Linked DNA regions of Homo sapiens: region 2 is linked to region 1. The links are contacts of gene promoters, found by promoter capture Hi-C in human tissues and cell types (Jung and others, 2019). All regions are on one chromosome and are shown on one strand. Each heading gives the region's core, a stretch centred on a gene start or on the middle of the fragment in contact. The rest is flanking DNA. Distances are from core to core; before and after follow the strand shown. Region 1 holds the start of TIGD2 (tigger transposable element derived 2). Region 2 has its middle 14 kb from the start of PIGY.

Region 1 (4,232 bases), core at 1,266-3,765:
ACCTCCCTATTATCAATATTGCCCACCAGAGTGGAACATCAGTTACAATTGATGAACCTGCCTTGAAACATTTTTATCACAGAGTCCATAGTTTCCATTAGGGTTCACTCTTGGTGTTGTACATTCCGTGCATCTGAACAAATGTTTAATGACATGTGCCCACCATTACAGTTGTACAGAGTAGTTTCACCACCTTAAGAATCTATTATTGGCCAGGCAGGATGGCACATGCCTGTAATCCCAGCACTTTGGAAGGCTAAGGTGGGAGGATGACTTGAGCCCAGGGGTTTGAGATCAGCTCTGGCAACATAGCAAGACCTCATCTCTACAAAAAATACAAAAATTACCTGGGCATGATGGCACGCACCTGTAGCCTACAGTCTCAGCTACTCGGGAGGCTGAGGCAGAAGGACTGCTTGAGCCTAGGTGGTTGAGGCTGCAGTGAGCCCAAGCCATGGTCGTACCACTGCACTCTAGCCTGGGCAACAGAGAGAAGCCCTGTCTCAAAAATACACATACATACACATACATATATTCTTATTATATATATATGTGTGTATATATACATATTCTTAACATTCTAAGTCCTCTCCCCCTTGTGCTGTAATATGTCTGCCACAACTAGCCACCCCTTCCCCCAACAAAAGGAGAAAGTTTGCCCAATAAAACTGTTTTGTGTAAAGACACAATTGCCTTGAGTAAAATCTTAGTAAAAGTCTACTAAATACAATTGCCTTGAGTCAAGCGGTGTTTTGAGAAAATCTAGAAATGTGGGCTGTATCCAGATTTGAACTTACACAAGGTGATAAAAAGGGAACAGCTATAAGACATAAAACAGCAAACTGGAGAATCCAGGAGGAACAGAGAAAAATGCAAATGGTATCTGGAAGAAAATTAAATCCTAGAGATACTGTGGAAAAGAGAGGAAGAGTAAGAGGCAGGATTCCTTTGTATTTAAATATCCTGGGACACAGCTACTCCAGCAGACTCGGGGGAGAGGCGGAAAGGCAGGCGGCTGACATCTGGTTACAGGCTGCCTCATTTCCACATGGGTGGCAGTCGGTAAAGTGCTGTTCTAGCAGTCTTTCACGCTCTTCACAGGTATCAGGGAAAATAAGAATATTTTGTAAAGTTATATAAAACTACCATGAAGTAAGTTATAATGTACCCAAAACAGGCAACCAGGACTTCCAGAAAGGGACTGGCTTGTTGGAAGCCAAATGGAAGGCAGGGAAGAGGGGAGGTCTAAAAGCAGGTATTCTCCAAAAGCCACTTACAACCTCACAACATAACTAGATCAAAGAATTTCTGTCATGCCAGATAGTGGAAGGCTGCTATGTTGAGAAAGGCAATTGAGCAGTTTTGGCGGCGGAGTCAAACAGAAGGCTTAGAATCAACATCTGTTTTCTACAGTATGCTCGCTTTGATTTCCATCTCCAAGTTTCTGAAATTCCAGAAACAGTATATGGCCTTGTCAAAGAAATGACGAATTACTATGTTACTTTGTGTTAACGAAAAGGTTACATTTATGTTCATATGGAAGAGATAATTCACTGAAGAATTTCCAATTTTTCAAACTGACACGCACACACAAGACGGAAAGGAAGGCAGCCTGACCGCGTTTCCCAGGAAACAGGTGGTGCAAGGTGGAGGTGCACCACTCTCTCCTCCAGGAAGGCGGTGACCCTTCCGCAGATGTCTCCGTTGGAAACAAATAAAGGGAGTATCAGTCAAAGCGCAATTCCCCGATTCCACTTGAGAAGCCCCGGGCGTCGAGGCACGGCAGGAAATTTACCACGACGCCTCCCACTGGCTCAAGGGTCTCCCAGGTGCTGTCGATTTTGCAAAGGGTCCGTCTCTACAGCGACTGTGACGAGTTTCGGAGCATCAGCACCGGGGAGCGCTGACCCGACACTCGGCTCTACCGCAGCCCGCCGCGCCTCGGCACCCTGGGCTTGTCCGGCTGGGTGTTGCCGAGCGAACGCCCCAGCTCCTGCCCGGAACCCACGTCCGCCGGCTCCTACCGTGCCTCATGATCCTCGCTCGGGCTAGCACTTTCCACGCGCGCTGACTCTGGGCTCCGACACCTGGACCGCCTCCGCAAGGCGGCGCGGCTGCTGTTTGTAAACACGCCCCACGTGCGCTCGCCCTGCCCCATTCGCAGCCCGCTCCCGGCACGCGAGGATCCTCCGCTTTCCCCCCAGCACTGGGGGGGTGAGATTTTAAAATTTCCCCCTAGGGAGAAAAGAGCCTCGTCGGCAGAGCCGGGCCACTGGGAAAAGCGCCAGGACAAGGCGAGCGTGTGCCTCCCCCTGCCGGCCAGGGAGGCACTGCGGCCCCGAAACGGCCAGGCGGTGAGTGGAACCCACGCAGCGCCTAGAGACGCACCCCTGCCGGGCCCCCGCCCCTCCCGCCCGCTCGCCGGAGTCCCCTCCCCCGGGCCGCGTGCGCTCACCCGCGCAGGCCCCGCCCCCTCGCCGGCACAACGTTCTGCGGGGGCGCGCGCGTGCTCTCTAATCCCCCGCCTTCCGGCTCCGGCGGCGACGCTCGTCCCTCTCCGCTCGTCCCTCGCCGCTGCCGGGCCACCAGTGCCAGCCTGCCTCAGGAGACTCCATTTGCGCTTAGTGTGGTCTGGGCGCCGCGCAGGCGGTCCCAGGGCGATGCCCGGGGCCGGCGGACTGGCGTTCCCTGTGCCAAGCGGCCGCCCGCTGGCTGGCTGGCTGCAGCAGTGACATCCTGGTCGCCGGCGTCCAGGCGGAATCCGGGCTCCCTCCGCGGGAGGAAAGACGTCCCGCGCTCTGAAGCTCGCCCAGCGGGGAGAGGCCCTCGCTAACACGGCTTCTCCCTGACCTCTTAATTTCAGGAGGTAGGCTCTTCAGGTCCCTCTCTCTGTCACCCCAGATTATGCCTGAAAGCATTATTTGTCGTATTTAGCTATCACATTGATAGGAGGCGTTAATTTTCTCAACATAGTTGCAGGATAAATGTGGATAATGCCACAGATCCTGATGTTGAATTGAAAGAAAATGTTTTTGGTATTTTCCTTTAGGTTTCGGAGCCTCCGAGTATCTCTACAGCCCCCACAGGAACTGCTTCTGTTGGTCCATCGAGGATCGTCTTTCACCAGGATTATTGTAACATCATCTTCACCGAGCCTGCCACCCCATAGCCTCTACCTTGGGTCCTCATTTCCACCGATGCAGTTTTTTTGATGCTTTCTTTAGTAATGTGACATCACATGTCCACTATCCTCCTTTCCAGCTGCCAAATCTAGTAGGTTTAAGTCGCTTTTAAAGTAGAGTTTTCTGCCTGTTCCACTTTCACCTTATTTGCACTGTTCACTTCTGTCCGGGTCATCTTCTCTTGCGTATGATTTCCACAAGCACTCACTTGCGCAACCTATAGCAGAGTCCGTGCCTAGAGAGACAGCATTCCATACAATCCACTGCTTGACAAAGACCACATAGTCAGAGGGTGAGTTTTCCCATTGTATTTTCCTGTATGTCAAGTTTGCAAGTCCTCTCTTGACTTAAACTGTTTACTCCCTAGCACATTTCCTAAAATACTTCCACCTGAGATTTAGTGGCTATTCTGGCAAAGAACATTACCTGCAAGGATGGCAAGAATTGAGTATGCAATAGTACTGTTTTAGAAGCCTTACCAGTACAGTTTCTAGCCTCTAGTGTGATTGCACTTCATGAAAGACCCTGAACCCTGAGGAGGAAGAAAGATAGAAGATAAGAGTTAATTGGCGCTAGGCTTTGTTGTAGGAAGTTTGTAAGTTTTAAAATAGCAAGTAGATTCACGTAGACCTTGTCAGGAAATTGGTCACTATCCATCTAGGCCCTAGAAGTGAGAGGAGGAATCTTACGAACTCATTTTCTAGTTGCTTTGTATTCAAATCTTAGTTGTTAATTATCTTGTTCTAGTAATCACCTAAAATATTAGACACTTAAAATGTTGGGGAAACGTAAGCGTGTGGTGTTGACAATTAAGGACAAGCTTGACATTATTAAGAAACTTGAGGAAGGCATCTCTTTCAAAAAACTTTCCGTGGTGTACGGAATTGGTGAATCCACAGTTCGTGATATTAAAAAGAACAAAGAAAGGATTATAAACTATGCAAACAGTTCAGATCCTACCAGTGGAGTATCCAAACGTAAATCTATGAAGTCATCAACATACGAGGAGCTTGATAGAGTTATGATAGAGTGGTTTAACCAACAGAAAAC
Region 2 (4,232 bases), core at 638-3,137, 600 kb before region 1:
TAATAACATTTAAAGCAGGGATGTCCAATCTTTTGGCTTCCCTGGGCCACATGGGAAGAAGAAGAATTGTCTTGGGCCACACATAAAATACACTAATAATAGTTGATGAGCTAAAAAAAAAAATCTCATAATGTTTTAAGAAAATTTACAAATTTGTGTTGGGCTACATTCAAAGCCATCCTGGGGCCTGTGGGCCATGGGTTGGACAAGTTTGATTTAGAAAAAGGAATAAAGAAAAACATTGCAGTAGCTCAGTTTCTTTCAAGTGAAGAAGAAAAATGATGTAAAACTAATATGTAGGCTAAAATGTTTGGTAATTAGTGTCAAAAATTACCAAGATTATTAGTACATGTTTTGGTAATCACTAATGGCAGGATTAATTTTTTGTGCAAAATATATATTAATAGAAGAGAAAAATTATTTCAGCCTCTAATAGAAGAAAACAGCAAGAGAAGCAGCTAAAGAACAATTAAAAGTTAGGGAAGTTTACTAGCTTTAGAATACAATACACTTCAATTACAGAAATACTTCTTTTTAAAACTACAGTGTTTTAATGTACTTTTAGTAATAACCCAATCTAAGGAGTGTGGGAGGCTTGTGAAAAACTCCACCAAGGTGCTACATTTCTAGTGTGGGGTGAATTAATACTTCTGTAAAAAGGAAAGAACTGAGTCACCTCAGCATTTTTTGTTTAAATAGTAACTCATAATCCGATGATGTATTTTTCTTCACTAGTTCAAATTTAGGCAGGAAAGGGACTAAGCTAACTGGTCGGACCCAGAAACACAATTATTTGGCAAGTCACAGTCACTTAGCTCATGGATGTGTAATAATCTGCAGAAAAGCTGCTGAACTCTTGTCTGTTCCTTCACATCTGTAGAGGAGTTTGATATAATCACTTCTCTTTCTCGATTTTAAGCTTCATACAGGCAAAGAGATCACAAAATGTAGGGTAGCCATCATGGTCTTGGGGGAAGTTATGTTCCTCCTGTAGGGGTGGATTAAGTAATACTTCCTGGCCCTTCTTCCGAAGTAGCCACTTGTCTTCTCCAGAGGATCACTGGCTGAGGGTGCCCATCTTCTTTCCTGGCAGGATCCAGTCAGCTGTATTAAAGGGACACCAGGAAGTGATTGTGGGGCTTTTAAGCTTTTGTTGGCCAGCCCTGTCCTCAGTACTAGGCACTTCCTTGGGAATTCCTTCCTTATATGGGGGCTGGATTAGCCACTCTGACAAGGGACTGTTGTTTATGACTTGAATCAGCAATTCTAGAAGGAGCCGTTGCCTTTGATGCCTTAGCTTGTTCTTTTCTTGAAGGACAGGACCACATATTCAGGGAATCTTGATGCTTCTCAGGCTCAGGTTTGGTTTCCTCAGGCATCCCATTATTTTGTCTATCTTTCTTTAGAAGCCACTTACACAGAGCTTCCTTCTCAATTCTCATCATACACTCTGCAAAACTTCTGCAGGGCTCATTGGCTGTGCATATGTCCTCTACTTTATATGGGTCCTGATGGTTCTGGACAAGTCAATCCTCAGAAACGATGCTGAGGGTAGAAAATAGTTTCTTGGCTTCCAAGTAGTCATTCAGGCACTTCACATTGCCCAGGTTTTTCAAAATCTCTACACTATTGGGCTGGTTGACCCAACAGTTGATATAGGAGTTGGTTTTGACAAGCCAATCATTCACATTGTAGGAATGGAACAAGAATTTAAACTTCTCACTGGTTTCATAACTGCCATTCTCAGGCTTCTCCAACTTACAGGATTCCTGGGGAATCACCAGCCACTAGATAGATCATCTCACCTTGATCAGAAAGCTCTAGATCTTCCACCTTTTCAATTAAATGGAGAAAGAACTGGTAGTAAAATGGCTGTCACTTTGGATAACTTGGTTTTTCTGGAACTTCTTGTTGCTGACTCTTGAGGAGCAAGTTTTCAAAGCCCTTTAGGTTGCCTGAGACATTACTGAAGAAACTGCAGGCTCTGGAAGAAGTCTATTCTCCAACGTCTGCTTTTGGGTGAGCCAGTCGTGGGGGGTTGTTCCTGAAGACCACTGGTATGGTTGCTTCCAAGGAGCCATTCCCTGAGAGGGACATCTGTGATGCTGGATGCTGACTTCTGCTCTGGCATTAGGATATAGCCTCTCTTCTCCAGGAAGGGCCTGATACTTGATAAGCTAGCATGAGGCATGAAGTGTTTAGGAATTTGAATGGTCTTGAGAAACCCAAATGTGGTGATAGTCATGCAGAGCAGTTGTGTCTGCTTCAAACAGCAGGACAGTTGAATCTTCAAACTTAAGGGTCAAACTGCCCAGTCTCTCCAGGCACACAGAGACTTGGCTAGATCTTTGTTTTGGGTGCACTTCCGTTAATGAATAAGACCATTGAACTGGCCCAATAACCAGTAGAGCTGCTGGGCCTGTGGCTGAAGTGTCTCCTCTTTAAGCTGATAGATGAGGTCTACCTGTTCATACAGCCACCTCACAGTTCGTAAGGCATTCTAGGTGACAGCTTATACAACTCTGAATCTGAGTTTTGACTTCTCACAAGTTATCTTTAATTTGCTGTTTGGCCCAGGGAACTCCACCAATAGCAAGCTCCAAGTCCTTCCATGCATTACTACATCTCAAAAGGGGTTCTCTATTACTGGAGTAGCCACTCTGGTCATGTGAGGTATTCATTCTGCTCACTGCTCCAGCTCCCAATCCCTCTCCGGGTGATCCAGGGGACTTTGGGTGGACAGAGACACAGCCCCACACAAAACTCCTGAGGAGTCTTTTTAAAGGGAATCTTTTCAACTGACTGGAACCTTTTTGCTTCCTCCTTTATTCTTTACATAGAACTGTATTACCTACTATTGCTCTGACTCCAAGTAAGGAGTCTTGCAACAATCAGCCACATGAGGAACACAATTCTCCTACTCTGAAGACACAGCAACAAGGGTGCCAGCTTGAACCAGAGAATAAATCTGCTGATGTCTTGATCTTGGCTTCCCAGCCACCAGACTGTGAGATAAATTCCTGTTCTTTAAATTACACAGTCTCAGGTATTCTGTTATAGCGGCACAAAATGGACAAAGACAGACTTGTATCCTACCCACAATATGTAAAGAACTCTCAAAATTCAATAATGAAGACACAATTTTAAAATGGGCAAAGATTTGAACAGACACAAGATATATCAATGGCAAATAAGCTTAACAACGTGTCATTATAGAACTGCAAATTAAAACCCAAGTAAGGTACCACATCACCCCTATTACCATGGCTAAAATTAAATAGACGTACCAAGTGTTGATAAGAATGTGGAAGAACTAGAACTCTTATATACAGTTGGTGGGAATTTAAATGGTTTGACCACTTTGGAAAACTGTTAGGCAGTTTCTTAAAAAGAAGTATCTACCATATGATCCTGCTATTCTACTCTTAGGAATTTACCCAAGAGAAATAAAAGCGTATGTCCATGCAAGGATTACATACAAATGTTCATAGCAGCTTTATTTATAATAGCCAGAAGTGGAAAACAACTCAAATGTCCATCAATAGGTGAATACATAAATAAATCGTGGTCTGTCCATACTATAGAATAATATTCAGCAATAAAAAGGAATGGACTGTTGACACAACAACATGCAGGAATCTCAAAATAATTATACTGGGTGAAGGAAGTTAATGATTATATCCTGTATGATTCATTTATATAAAATGCCAGACAATGCAAGGTAAAGTATAGTGACAGAAAGCAGATCAGTGGTTGCCTGGGAAATGGGATGGGGGTGAGGAGGGACAGGAGGGAAGGATTACAGAATGGCACAAGGAAGCTTTGGGGGATGATGGATATGTTCATTATTTCAATGGTGAGAATGGTTTCACGGGTATATACATATCCCAGAATTTGTCGAATTACACACTTTAAATGTGTGTAATTTATTGTATGCCTCATATCTCAATAAAGCTGTTTTTAAATTCCAAAGAGAGATGATCTTTCTTATTTGTCTACCTTGAGTCTCATACCCATTCCATGGCCAGGAAAGGCTAAGATGATTGGCAGTTCCCCTAGAATTGCATCCGATGGAGAAACAAATTGAGGAGCTATTCTAAAGAAACAGTTCTAGTACAAGCAGCAACTATAAAATTCTAATATGCCTTGGGAAATCTGTCACTGTACACTTTTTGAGTACATAAATGAACAGGTATTTCATTTTGTGTGTGTGTGTGTGTGTGTGTGTGTGC

Evidence for each region. The method cuts DNA at HindIII sites, captures the fragments that hold promoters and counts their contacts. A contact is called where the count stands out against the background at its distance.
Region 2: a fragment that was not itself captured here is called in contact with the fragment with the promoter of TIGD2 in region 1 in 1 of the 25 tissues and cell types used here (spleen).

The regions. Positions count from the first base shown.
Region 1 is chr4:89,109,018-89,113,249 of GRCh38, forward strand. It overlaps TIGD2 (tigger transposable element derived 2), which reads left to right and starts at 2,516. Exons shown (of 2, transcript NM_145715.3): 1 at 2,516-2,866; 2 at 3,050-4,232. The coding sequence starts at 3,958. RefSeq lists enhancers at 2,024-2,133, 2,164-2,243 and a silencer at 2,324-2,773. The HindIII fragment of the contact is 12,010 bases long and covers 1-4,232 here.
Region 2 is chr4:88,507,723-88,511,954 of GRCh38, forward strand. It overlaps the pseudogene NCOA4P2. Among named protein-coding and RNA genes, the nearest start is that of PIGY, 14 kb to the right of the region's middle. The HindIII fragment of the contact is 3,240 bases long and covers 268-3,507 here.